Regions from separate parts of the Homo sapiens genome. Here region 1 is linked to region 2. Evidence: promoter capture Hi-C in human tissues and cell types (Jung and others, 2019). All regions are on one chromosome and are shown on one strand. Each heading gives the region's core, a stretch centred on a gene start or on the middle of the fragment in contact. The rest is flanking DNA. Distances are from core to core; before and after follow the strand shown. Region 1 overlaps DNMBP (dynamin binding protein). Region 2 holds the start of CWF19L1 (CWF19 like cell cycle control factor 1).

Region 1 (2,793 bases), core at 282-2,781, 360 kb before region 2:
CACTTGAGCTTGGAGTTCAAGACCAGCCTGGGCAACATGGTGAAACCTCACCTCTACAAAAAATACAAAAATTAGCAGCACATGGACTGGCACACACCTATAGTCCCAGCTACTCAGGAGGCTGAGGTGGGAGGATGGCTTGAGCCTGGGTGGCAGAGGTTGCAGTAAGCTGAGATTATGCCACTGCACTCCAGCCTGAGTAAAAAAAAAATCTGGCCAGGTGCAGTGGCTCACGCCTGTCATCCCCGCACTTTGGGAGTCTGAGGCTGAGGCGGACAGATCACCTGAGGTCAGAAGTTCGAGACCAGCCTGACCAACATGGTGAAACCCCATCTCTACTAAAAATACAAAAATTTGTATTTTGCCTGTAATTCCAGCTATTCAGGAGGCTGAGGCAGAGGTTGCAGTGAGCCAAGATTGCACCACTGCACTCCAGCCTGGGAGAACAGAGCAAGACTCCATCTCAAAAAAAAATCCATGTTCATACAAAATACACACTGAAGCTTACTAAGGGGCACAATATATGCAATGTACTCTTAGTTCATTAAAGAAAAAAAAACTGCATGTGGAGAGTGGGGATTGACAGAGAATGAGATAAAAACAGCAAAATGTTAAATATGGGTGAATTTGTATAAAATGTATACAGGAGTTTTCATTGTACTATTGCAATTTTCTGTATATTTGGTATTATTCAAAATAAAACTTAAGACATAACAGAAAAAGCTCTTTCTCGAACTTTTTGGTAGAATGAATGGCAAAACTTGAAGCATAACCCTGATTTCATCAGTGTTCGATTATGATTCTAAATTCATTGTGTTACATATAAAATTTATTTCTAATAGGCTTGTTTTAAATTTTCTTTGTGATCTCAAAGCAACAGACTTTCAATCCCAAATATGGTCTCATTAGTGCCAAGTTGAGAATAGAAACTCATTTTAAATACAAGACTAAAAAGCTCTGGAGAGGGAGAACATTTACTGAATTCCTATCACATGCCAGGTACTTTACAGATTATATCCCTGAACTCATTTAATACTCACATCAGAATTTTTAAGTAGGTATTATTACTCCCATTTAATAGGTAAGAAAATCCAGGCTTGGAGAGGCTGACAAACTTGTCTGAGGTTATATAGTGAGTAAATGGCAGTTGTGGATTTAGAACCTAAATATATTTAAATCCAAATCCTGTGCACTTAATCCTGCACCATTTGGTTTCCCTGGCCTGGAATCTCAATGAGAAAAGGTCAGGGGCTTATTTGCTTCAAATCTTAAAAACTCCCTGGAAACCACTGTGTACTCTCCTGAGAATCAAAATTCTACTAATTATAGTAGTTGAAAACACAAAGTACCAGCAAGCACTTACTCATCAATCAGAAGCCAGCCAGCCTATGTATTAGATTTTTATTTCTTTAAAATGGAGAAAAACAATAACAATTCTTTTAAACTACCAGCGTGCCTTCCCCTGTGCCCCCACCCCCCGAAAATGGGGTTTATAAACTCTTGAGCAGCCTTTAAAAACCCAAACACTTTGGTGTGATTAAAAACCCCTGTGGGATGTTTTCACTATATTGCAGTTTCCTGGACACCATCCCTGGGATTCAGATTCAGCAAACCTGGGTGGGACCGGGGTATCCGCAATTTTAATAAAACCCTAGGTGTTTCCTTCCCTCCTCTTTCTCTTCCTCTCTCTTTAAAGGAGGGGGTTGTTACCCAGACTAGTTTCAAACTCCTGGGGCTCTCAAGCGATCCTCCCACCTCAGCCTCCCAAGTAGCTGGGACTATAGGCATGTGTCACTGCTCCTGGCAACCCAAGGTATTTCTGAAGACACAGGTGACCTTCAGGTGCCACAAACATTTATTAACACTCAAAGAGAGTTTTCAAAGATTAAGTCAAATTTTAAAGTCTGGCTTGAAATGACTGTAAGTATAAAAACTTTTTCCTTTATGCCACATATATTCTAATAAAAATATCTGCTCTAAAATTTTAGTATCTGGGCCATGCGTGGTGGCTCATGCCTGTAATCCTAGCGCTTTGGGAGTCTGAGGTGGGAAGACTGCTGGAGCCCAGGAGTTCAAGACCAGCCTGGGCAATATAGTGAGACACCCGTCTCTAAAAAAATTAAATTTTTAGTATCCCGGACAACAAAGCGGGAGAAGGCGGCCTTCACCCCCAGCCAGCTGTGGTGGAAAAAGAAGCTTTGAATCTTGCACTTCCCCACTATGTAGCTGGGGAGCCTTGGAAATGTCCACTTTTATCTCTTGGCCTCAATTTCCCAATCTATAAAATGAGGATAATAATACTTGCTTTGCAGAGTAGTTGAGGGAGTTAAACAAGGTAATAACCCAACAAACATAAGTCCTTTTCCCACAATGGGCCCGAATATGCCATCTGCACCTGATAGATGGTAAATACACTTGGTAAAATGTACCAAGCAGAAAAGTGCCCTGTGCAGACTCTAAAATTCCACTTTTCTATGAGAACAATAAAATGTGCAGACGAGCTCTTACTTTCTTCCTAGGATAGCCCGGCAGGTGTTAAAGGAGCTGGGACTGTTGCACAAATTTACTTCCTGTGATAAAACAATTAGTTGTGGGGTTCCTTCAGTGATTGTGGCTTACCCCCCACCCCAAGTCCTGATTCCATTCCTTCTCAAGACACCCCCAGCCCTTTCCGGTTAGTACATTATCACCAGGCTCACTTCCTAAAGTTCGAAGGAAGGGAGTCATTAGCCCACGGCTTCCCACAACTCCATCACACACACTTCAGAGTTAAAGAGCAGAGCCATGCGCCCT
Region 2 (2,700 bases), core at 53-2,552:
GCCCGGCTAATTTTTTTTTTTTTCTGTATTTTTTGTAGAAACGGGGCCTTGCTATATTGCCCAGGCTGGTCTTGAATTCCTGGACTCAAGTGATTCTCTTGCCTTGGCCTCCGGAGTCGCTGGGATTATAGGCGTGAGCCACTGCGCCTGGCCCTATCACTATGGTAACTTTACATTTATCTGAATTCCTTTTTTTTTAGACGGAGTCTCACTCTGTTACCTAGGCTGGAGTGCAGAGGTGCAGTGTCGGCTCACTGTGCAACCTCCGCCTCCGGGTTCAAGCGATTCTCCTGCCTCAGCCTCCCAAGTAGCTGGGATTACAGGCACGCGCCACCACGCCTGGCTAATTTTTTTTTTTTGTATTAGTAGAGACGGGGTGTCACCACGTTGGCCAGGCTGGTCTCGAACTCCTGACCGCAAGTGATCCGCCCGCCTCAGCCTCCCAAAGTGCTAGGATTACAGGCGTGAGCCACCGCGCCCGGCCATTATTTGTATTGTTTTTTGTTTGTTTTGTTTTGTTTTGTTTTGTTTTGAGAGTCTCGTTCTGTCGCCCAGGCTGGAGTGCAGTGGCGCGATCTCGGCTCACAGCAACCTCCGCCTCCCGGGTTCAAGCGATTCTCCTGCCTCAGCCACCGCGCCCGGCCCATTATCTGGATTCTTTAGTACCTGTTCCTCTAGACTCTACGCTCCATTAAAGCAGGAACTCCATCTGTTGCAACACCTAGCACAGCGTCCGGCACACTGCAGTTCTTCAATAAATACTTGCTGCATGAAGCCCTCTCTTCACCACCACCCCCACCCCTCCTCCTCGCAAAAAAAAAAAAAAAAAAAAAATGCCCCAGGGAAGGGTCCCTATCTACTCTGTCCACCACTGCCCAGGGCCCATCAGTGGGCCCAATGGCTATTTGGCGAGTAAATAAATGGGGTCAGGAGAAACGAAGGGGAAAGGATGTGTCAGAGGCCAGGACTGCCCCCTAAGATGGAGGAGGCCTAACTCTGGGAGCTTCCGCCTCTCCGAACGAGCGTCGCCAAGAGAAACCCCCTCAGAAGCGAAAAGGGCCAGGAAAAGAGGTCAGCCCCGGCCAGGCAAAGACATCACCTAAGCTCCCCAGCAGCCCCGTGTCTCTCCGCCTTTTCCTTCTCCCTTCCCGTCATGGGAAAGACTCCCGCCCGTGTCGTCACCTACACACACGAAAGAGACACAGGGAGAGAGGCTTCCATTCACGGTCACTCACAGGCGCAGCGGTTTCTGTGCCATCTGTCCGAATAGTATGGGTTGCGACTGCCACCTAAAATTGGGAATGCGAATCCGCGCTCCCCGGAAAAATGCGACCGCGCAACAATCAGACGTCAGCGCCCTCCAGCCAATAACGGTTCACTTACTTACGGAGACCGCCGAGGGACAGAAGCCTCTCTCAGGTGTTTGCGCCTCAAGGAAGAATCAAGAGGGAAAGGGAGGAACGAAGGGAGAAAGAGAAAGTGACCGAAAGGATTCCAACTATGATTTTTTAAATTAAATTTCAGAGCACTTGAAGCGAATGAATGGCTAGGAAGTACAGAGCACAATGTCGGGTTCTAACCTAACCTAACCTAACCTAACCTAACCTAACCATATCGGTCTAGTGGGCAAGACAGACCCCCTCTATCCACGTTTTTTGTAAGTTTTTAACCTATCAAAAAGTTAAGAGGCCGGGCGTGGACGCTCACGCCTATAATCCCAGCACTTTGGAAGGCTGAGGCGGGCGGATCACTTGAGGTCGGGCGTTCAAGACCAGCCTGGGCAACATGGTGAAACCCCGTCTCTTCTAAAAATACAAAAATTAGCCGGGCATGGTGGAGAATTGCTTCAACCAGGGAGGCGGGGGTTGCAGTGAGTCAAGATCGCGCCATTGCACTCCAGCCTGGACAACAAGAGCGAAACTCCGTCTCAAATTAAAAAAAAAAAAGTTAAAAGAATAATGGCTATTACCTTGATTCAGTAAGTCTCAGCATGTTGGCAAATTTGCTTGTGTTCTCTTTCTCTCAAAGTGCCCAAGCCCTTCCATTCTCACTCAATCATTTGAAAGTAAAGTACAGGCCGGGCGCAGTGGCTCACGCCTGTAATCCCAGCACTTTGGGAGATCCAGACCATCCTGGCTAACACGGTGAAACCCCCTCTCTACTAAAAATACAAAAAATTAGCCGGGCGTGGTGGCACGCACCTGCAGTCCCAGTTACTCGGGAGGCTGAGGCAGGGGAATCGCTTGAACCCAGGAGGAGGAAGTTGCAGTGAGCCGAGATCGCGCCACTTCACTCCAGCCTGGGCGACAGAGCGAGACTCCGTGTCAAAAAATAAAATAAAATAAAGTGCGGACAACAGGAATACATCTCCATTTATCTCCTAAGATTAGGATATCCTCCTACATAACCGTAATACTATTAACACAGCTAAGAAAATTAACATTAATTATTCAATAATATTACCTAATATACATCCATATTTAAAGTTCTCCATATTTCCCTACAAACTGATTTTATATTTGGGGCTTGTTTTGATTCAGATGCAATCAAGTTTCACACTTGCATTTGGTTCTGTCTCTATTTTAATCTACAAAAGCCCTCCTACCTATTTGGTTTTAGTTTTTGTAATATTGACTTTTTTGAAGGGTTCAGGCCAAGTGGTAGGAAACAAGTGTGTAAGGAAATGGAAACAAGAGAGAG

The links. Contacts are between HindIII fragments. The study calls those that stand out against the background at their distance.
Region 1: a fragment that was not itself captured here is called in contact with the fragment with the promoter of CWF19L1 in region 2 in 2 of the 25 tissues and cell types used here (neural progenitor cells and thymus).

The regions. Positions count from the first base shown.
Region 1 is chr10:99,911,019-99,913,811 of GRCh38, forward strand. The region is part of intron 4 of DNMBP (dynamin binding protein); the gene reads right to left. Among named protein-coding and RNA genes, the nearest start is that of DNMBP-AS1, 15 kb to the right of the region's middle. RefSeq lists an enhancer at 2,258-2,793. The HindIII fragment of the contact is 4,920 bases long and covers 1-2,793 here.
Region 2 is chr10:100,266,336-100,269,035 of GRCh38, forward strand. CWF19L1 (CWF19 like cell cycle control factor 1) reads right to left here and starts at 1,303. Exons shown (of 14, transcript NM_018294.6): 1 at 1,236-1,303. The coding sequence starts at 1,258. The HindIII fragment of the contact is 27,589 bases long and covers 1-2,700 here.